Regions from separate parts of the Homo sapiens genome. Here region 2 is linked to region 1. Evidence: promoter capture Hi-C in 16 types of primary human blood cells and fetal thymus (Javierre and others, 2016). All regions are on one chromosome and are shown on one strand. Each heading gives the region's core, a stretch centred on a gene start or on the middle of the fragment in contact. The rest is flanking DNA. Distances are from core to core; before and after follow the strand shown.

The links. The method cuts DNA at HindIII sites, captures the fragments that hold promoters and counts their contacts. A CHiCAGO score of 5 or more calls a contact.
Region 2: a fragment that was not itself captured here is called in contact with the fragment with the promoter of AACS in region 1 in 1 of 17 cell types (neutrophils); the score reaches 5.2 in neutrophils.

Annotation. Positions count from the first base shown.
Region 1 is chr12:125,063,175-125,067,106 of GRCh38, forward strand. It overlaps AACS (acetoacetyl-CoA synthetase), which reads left to right and starts at 2,261. Exons shown (of 18, transcript NM_023928.5): 1 at 2,261-2,543. The coding sequence starts at 2,411. It overlaps LOC105370052 (a long non-coding RNA gene), which reads right to left. Exons shown (of 4, transcript XR_001749365.2): 3 at 1,829-1,936. RefSeq lists a silencer at 1,902-2,521. The HindIII fragment of the contact is 11,218 bases long and covers 1-3,932 here.
Region 2 is chr12:124,970,916-124,974,847 of GRCh38, forward strand. It overlaps DHX37 (DEAH-box helicase 37), which reads right to left. Exons shown (of 27, transcript NM_032656.4): 7 at 1,588-1,684; 8 at 387-500. Among named protein-coding and RNA genes, the nearest start is that of DHX37, 16 kb to the right of the region's middle. The HindIII fragment of the contact is 4,811 bases long and covers 1-3,932 here.

The sequences.
Region 1 (3,932 bases), core at 1,011-3,510:
TTAGAGGAAAGCGGTCCCGATCCAGACCCCAAGAGAGGGTTTTTGGATCTCACGCAATAAAGAATTCAAGGCGAGTCTACAGACTAAAGCAAATGCAAGTTCCTTAGGAAAGTAGAGGAATAAAAAGATGGCTACTCCATAGACAGAGCACCCTGAGGGGTGCTGGTTGCCCATTCTCATGGTTATTTCTTGATGATATGCTAAACAAGGGGTGGACTATTCATGCCTCCCCTTTTTAGACCATATAGAGTAACTTCCTGACATTGCCATGGCATTTGTAAACTGTCATGGTGCTGATGGGAGTGTAGTAGTGAAGTCAAGCAGAGGTCACTCTCATCACCACCTTGGTTTTGGTAGGATTTAGCCGGCTTTTTTACTGCAGCGTGTTTTATCAGCAAGGTGTTTATGACTTGTATTTTGTGCCGACCTCCTGTCTCATCCTGTGACTTAGAATGCCTTCACTGTCTGGGAATGGAGCCTAGTAGATCTCAGCCTCATTTTACCCAGCCCCCACTCAAGATGGAGTTGCTCTGGTTCAAATGCCTCTGACATTAAGACCAGCTGGCTGTTAACCTTAACTTTAGCCAAGACAAACCCCAATTCAGTTACTTACCTAGGGATGGGTCTTAGGCTGTAGACTGCTCTCTACCATTCTAGAAGCAGGAAAAAAGACCTCATCTTCCCTGTTGGAAGCGAGCTCAAACTCCATAAAGGAGTTACCTGCCTTCCATTGTCATGGAAGCAGGAAACCTTGCCTTCCTTGTTGGAAGCAAGTAAAACTGCAAAGAAAAGAGTTGTACAGCAAAATAAACTTTAGATCTCCACCAAATTTTGGGAGATCAGGGAGGCTCTGGAGGGGGTGCTCTCAGACCTGGGCTCACTCTTGTAATCCCAGCACTTTGGGAGGCCGAGGCGGGTGGATCACCTGAGGTCAGGACTTCAAGACCAGCCTGGCCAACATGGTGAAATCCCGTCTCTACAAAAATGCAAAAATGAGCCGGGCTCGGTAGCTCACGCCTGTAATTCCAGCACTTTGGGAGGCTGAGGCGGGCGGATCACCTGAGGCCGGGAGTTGGAGACCAGCCTGACCAACATGGAAAAACCCTGTCTGTACTAAAAATACAAAATTAGCCAGGCGTGGTGGCACATGCCTGTAATCCCAGGTACTCGAGAGGCTGAGGCAGGAGAATTGCTTTAACCTGGGAGATGGAGGTTGCCGTGTGCCGAGATCTCGCAATTGCACTCCAGCCTGGGTAACAAGAGCGAAACTTCGTCTCAAAAAAACAAAACAAACAACAACAACAACAAAAAAAAAAACACGAAAAATTAGCTGGGCATGATGGCGTGTGCCTGTAATCCCAGCTACTCAGGAGGCTGAGGCAGGAGAATCGCTTGAACCTGGGAAGCAGAGGTTACAGTGAGCTGAGATTGGGACATTGCACTCCAGCCTGGGCGACTGAGTGAGACTCAAAAAAAAAAAAAAAGCTAAGGCGGGGAGGGGGCCTTCCAGGTCATAGGTAGATAAGGGACAAATGGCTGCATTCTTTTGAGTTTTCAATTAGCCTCTGCAAAGGAGGCAATCAGGTGTGCATTTAACTCAGCAGAGGGGTGACTTTGAATAGAATGGAGGCAGGTTAGCCCTAAGCAGTTCCCAGCTTTTCTTTTCCCTTTAGCTTAGTAGTGGGGCCCCAAGATTTATTTTCCTTTCACAAATGTGTATTTTGATACCCATTGGCATACTATGTATATTATTGTATTATACTATGACATTATCTTGTGTATGTACACGATGTACTTATTTGTTAATCGTCTCCCGTCTTCCTCACACCTGTACCCCTCCTCTCCTGTTGACAGAGAACAAGAATTTTGTTTTGTTCGCTGCTGTATCCGCAAAGCTCCCAAAGTCCTCCGAATGCCGCAGGCTCTCAGTAAAGACCTGCAGGAAGAAATAGCGAATGAATGATGTACACGTGTAGGAAACAGCGGGCTCGGACGCCTGGCTTCTCCGGCTGCCCTAACGCCCTCCAGCTCCAGGTGAGGTCGGGGAGCTGGGGCCAAGGCTCGTGAGCGCCCCTCACCCCCACGCCCCCCGGCCGCGGGCGCTGGAGCCGGCGGCTGCGAGCACTCCTTTGAGCGGCGCTGCACTCAGCGGAGGGTTACAGGCGGGAGGGCGGGGCCTGGAAGGGGGCGGGGATTCGAGGCGGGGCCTGCGGGGCGGGGCCTGGGCCAAGCGGCCCGCAGGAGGCGGCGGCGGCCGTTCAGTCCCTTGTTCCCCGCCGCCGCCGTCGCTGACCCAGCCCGCCAGGCGCTCCTGACCGTCGCTTCCTCCGGTCCCAGGTCCCCGGCCCTCGCCTCAGCCCCGGCCCCTGGTCCCCAGCCCTCGTCGCAGCCCCGGCCGCCCGCCGCCGCCATGTCCAAGGAGGAGCGCCCCGGTCGGGAGGAGATCCTGGAGTGCCAGGTGATGTGGGAGCCTGACAGTAAGAAGAACACGCAGATGGACCGCTTCCGGGCGGCTGTGGGCGCCGCCTGCGGCCTGGCGCTGGGTGAGAGTCGGGCGCGCGGCCGGGCCTGCGGGGGATGGGCGGGAGCCGTGCAGGGTGGTTGGGTGGTCTCCCCATGGCTAGTTTCACGCTTCTGGGGCTGGAGGAGCCACTTGATGGCGGGGAGGCCTTCTGACTGCGGGGTTCCCCCCAGTCTTGGGGAACATCACCCCTCCACAGCACCTCCTGGCACTTCCTGACTCTGCAGCGTCTCCTCTGCATGTGGGGGTCACCCTCTCCCCGGGAGTGTCACCCCTCGGGAGGGCCAGCTGCCTGTTGACCGTGTGACCCCTTGCTAGGCTTTCCTACCTGTGAGGTGCTCCCTGGAGTCTTGACCTCCGGCCTGTGGGGGCTTCCCCCGGACATAGGGCCTTTTTGACTTGCAGCTCTTCCTCTGTTTGTGGGGGTCCCTTGCCAGTCCCCAGTGCCGTGCACTCTGTCCCCCTGACCTCCCTCATCTCCAGCTGCCCCTGCTGGAGGCCAGCACCTAGCAGGATGGTCAGGCAGGAGGCCCTGTCCACGTGTCTACACTCCCAGCCCCCAAACAGAACCTAGTAAAAGACTCTCTTTCCACCCATCACCTTGAACCTCAGAAACTGCCTCTCTCGGTGCGGGTGGGGCAAAGGCTCCTTCTCCGTGGGGTAACCGCTCCGGGTGCTCTTCCTGAGCTCTAGCTGGCTTGCCCAACTACCAGCTCCACCCCTCCACCCTGCCTCCCCTAGGTATTCCTAGGGGATTTTTTTTTTTTTTTTTTGAGACAGTTTCTCTCTCGTTGCCCAGGCTGGAGTGCAATGGCGAGATCTCGGCACACTGCAACCTCCGCCTCCCGGGTTCAAGTGATTCTCCTGCCTCAGCCTCCCGAGTAGCTGGGATTACAGGCATACACCACCACGCCTGGCTAATTTTGTATTTTTAGTAGAGACGGAGTTTCTCCATGTTGGTCAGGCTGGTCTCGAACTCCTGACCTCAGGTGATCCGATCGCCTTGGCCTCCCAAAGTGCTGGGATTACAGGTGTGAGCCACGGCGCCTGGCCTCCTAGGGGATTTTTAACTCATGGTCTCCCCTCCTCACCCCCTCCGCTGGCGCAGGGACTCCCTTGTTTCTGTTGGTGGCGTCACTGTTCTTGCTCAGGCTCACAGGGATGGACACCCCAGTCACCTGTGGCACCAGAAGTCTTCTGCCACAGCCCCATGTCGCTCACATCTCCTCCTTTGCAGCCCCTTGTCAGGGGTTCTGGGGCCTCCTTTCCTCCTCACCAAACAGTGGTTGGTTTTCCTGCTTCCTGCTTTTCCATCCATTTGCATCCTGCTTGCTTTGCCAGAGTAATCTTGAAGCATACAGGTCTTACTTTGTCACTCCTTGGCTCAGAAGTTCTCAGTGGTTCCTTGTTG
Region 2 (3,932 bases), core at 652-3,151, 93 kb before region 1:
CAGAGCTCCGGGAGCCTGGCCCTTGGCTGGGCAGGCCCACCTGCTCTGCTGATCCCAGAGGCCCAGAGGCCTCATCAACCAGCCCCATTGCGCCTGGCAAGGCATCAACACTTCTCCTGAGCCTCTTGCTTTGGATGGGGAGAAGGACACCAGTTTATGAGGCTGGCACCGGGGCGGTGGGGAGGGGATCACACAGGGGCTGTTCCAAGATTCACAGCCCTGGCACTAGGCCTAGACCTAGGCCCAGGGAGACCTTGTGCTCGGGGTACCTGCTCATGGCAGCAGCCCAGGGTACAACGGGGAACAGGTGAAGGAAGCCCAAGCCTCTGACAGAGCTGGGGGGGGCCTAGGGCTCGGGGCTCCCCAGCACCCGCCTCCTGCGCTACCTTAGCCCGGAGAGTCACAATGCGGGACAGGAGGCCGATGAGGATGTCCGTGTACACGCTCCTCTCGTGGGCCTCGTCGATGATCACCACCTTGTACCGCAGCAGCAGGAAGTCCTGGGGGGAGGTCCGGGGTGAGGCCCACCCTTCCAGCCTAAGCCCCAAGGGCCGCTTCACGTCCCAGAACTCCCACTTGAGGAGACAGTGTTAGAGGAAGGGCAGCTGCTCTTCATCAGAGGTGAGCTGCTCAACTCAGATGCCCGCAGAGTGGGAGGGCAGGTGGGAAATGGACATGAGATGTGGGGTGGGGCCGTGGGCAGTTGGACAGCAGGTGCCACACAGACAGGGGCCACCCAGACCCAAACTGCATCCACTGCCACCCCCAGGAGTCCCAGTGGCTTCAAAGCCAGGAGGGCTGGAATCACCTTTGCCATCCCCCTGGGAGATTGGCCCTGCCCAAGGGGACGTCACAGCCAGCACGGAGCACAGCTTCTTCACCAGACAGCAGTCCCCCACCCGGGCCCTGCATGCTCTCTGGACACGCGTGCCACCCACTTGACCGAATGGCCGGCTCCCTAGGAAGCATGGGGTGCTTCCCCAAGGCCCAAGTGGGCTGACTAGGGAGGCAGCAGCTGGGGTTCCGATTTACAAATGGAAAGTCCTTGGGACGCAGCTTCTGAGGCCAGGGACCGTGAAGACGCTCAAGGGCAAGCCCCAGCGGCCCCTCCCCTTTCCCTCAGCCTGAGGCTGGTACCCCACTCCGAGTCTGGTGCTGCCCCTCACCAAACGCAACTGGACTCGAAGCTCCCAAGAGGGGGCTGTGTCTGGACCCGCCGCAGGGCAGAGCCTGCACACCACAGGCTTTCAGTACACCCCCGGCAAGGCGTGAACTCTGTGAGTCAGTCACAATAAAAATACAAGTTCACATTTCACGAGCACCTTCTAGGTACGGGCCACTGTGCTAAGCTGTCAGCATGCACTCTACAACTTCCGCTTCAAAATGATTCTCTAAGGAATGCACCAACATACTCATCAAGAAACTGAGCTTGGAGAGGTTAAGTAACTCACCCAAAGTCACACAGCAGCACCGTGGGAGTGCTGGATCAACAGGTGGCTTGCCGGCTGCTCATATCCCAGGTGACATCCTAGCATCCCGCCCCCATGCCCACTGGCCTTGCTCTGTGAGCCAGGATCCACAACCAACCTTCTGGATTTCTTTAAGCAGCACACCATCCGTCATGAACTTGATTCTGGTCTCCTCTGTCACGTTTCCTTCATACCGGATCTGGTAGGAGACGACCCTGTATGGGCAGAGTTCGGGTTAGGGCAGAGCCGTGCCTGGCTGGGGCTGTCGCCACGGGGCCACTACAAGGCAGGCCGTGGAGCAGGCAGGCGGCTTGAGGGCAGGGCCCGCTGGCAACCTGAAACAAGTCCCAGACATCTCCCCAGTCCACTCTCCCCCTCCAAAATCCTGGTTTCTGAAGGGAAGGGAAGGAGCTGTTAAGGGCAACTGAGGAGCCAGGCCCTGAACACCTCGGCCAGAGCCCTCCTCGGATGGTGACTATGCCAGGAGACACCGGGGAGACCTGCACATGGGCTGGAGTGTGTTCCAGAGACTTCACAGACTTGGCAACTATCATCGGGGTACTGCAGCTGTATGTGTTTCACAAAAAGTCCTTATCTTAATTCAAAAATTAATCTGGTGTGGTGGTGTGCACCTGTAGTCCCAGCTACTCAGGAGGCTGAGGTGGGAGAATTACTTGTGCCCAAGAGGTTGAGGCTGCACTGAGCAAAGATGGCACCACTGCACTCCAGCCTGGGCAATAGAGCCATCTCAAAAAACAAAAAATGGCTCACGCCTGTAATCCCAACACTTTGGGAGGCCGAGGTGGGTGGATCACCTGAGGTGAGGAGTTCAAGACCAGCCTGGCCAACATGGTGAAACCCCATCTCTACTAAATACAAAAATTAGCCGGGCACCTGCAATTCCAGCTATTCGGGAGGCTGAGGCAGGAGAATCGTTTGAACCCAGGAGGCAAAGGTTGCAGTGAGCCAAGATCGCACCACTGAACTCCAGCCTGGGTGACAAAGTGAAACTCCGTCTCAAAAAAGAAAAAAAAAAAATTAGTTCTTATCTCTCAGATCTGTACAGCAAAATATTGAGGATAAAATAAGATACCTAAGATTTGCTTCTAAACAGTGGGGGGGAGGGGGGCCAGGAGGAGAGTACAGATCCAACAGGCTAGGGCAAGAGTTGACAATTATTACAACTGGGTCTTGGGTACCTGGGGGCTCATTATACTATCCTTTCTACTTATGTATATGCGCCCCCCCCAACGCTTTTTTTTTTTTTTTTTTTTGAGATGGAGTCTCACTCTTGTTGCCCAGGCTGAAGTGCAATGGCGTGATCTCGGCTCATGGCAACCTCCGCCTCTCGGGTTCAAGGGATTCTTCTGCCTCAGCCTCCTGAATAGCTGGATTACAGGCATGTGCCACCACACCCAGCTAATTTTTTTGTATTTTTAGTAGAGATGGGTTTTCTTCATGTTTGTCAGGCTAGTCACAAACTCCCAACCTCTGGTGATCCACCTGCCTCGGCCTCCCAAAGTCCTGGGATTACAGGCGTGAGCCGCCGTGCCCAGTCCCCAAATTTTTTTTTTTTTTTCTGAGACGGAGTCTCGCTCTTTCGCCCAGGCCAGACTGCAGTGGTGCTATCTCAATCTCGGCTCACTGCAAGCTCTGCCTCCTGGGTTCACGCCATTCTCCTGCCTCAGCCTCCCGAGTAGCTGGCATTACAGGCACCCGCCACTGCGCACGGCTAATTTTTTGTATTTTTTTCAAGAGATGGGGTTTCACCGTGTTAGCCAGGATGGTCTCGATCTCCTGACCTCATGATCCACCTGCCTCGGCCTCCCAAAGTGCTGGGATTACAGGCGTGAGCCACCGCACCCGGCCACCCAGTCCCCAAATTTTTATAATATTTAACAAGTTAAAAAGAGAATGAGGCAGCTTTTCCTAGACGCATGCCAACTATGCACAGAATTGTCCAGGAGGACGTGCAGGAGATGGTCAGTGGTGGCTGCTCCTGGAGAGGAGGCAGGGCATTGGGTGAGAAGGGGCCCCCAGTACTCCATCCCTGCCTTAGCGTCCTCCGAGCCTAACGTACAAAGACAACAAGTCCCCCAACTGGCATGCTGACCCGGGGGCCGGTGGCTCTGTCTGGTCCACCACCACGTCCTGAGAGCCCAGGATGGGCCTGGCACACTAGATGCTGCCTAGTAACATCTGCTGAGTGGGCAGATGAGGCAGGCTCTCACTCTGTGCTCTTTTGTGCCTTCTGGATTTTAGACCATGCTGGACATGTTAGACACAGGCCTCTGCATTATAAACATATGCTCCCAGCCATTGTAAAGCAAGTGCTATATCTGCCTGTTCAAGGCTGCTTTCCAAAGCAAGTCCTACAGACTTACCGCCTGAAGATTTTTTTTTTTTTTTGAGACAGAGTTTCACTCTTGTTGCCCATGCTGGAGTGCAATGGTGCGATCTTGG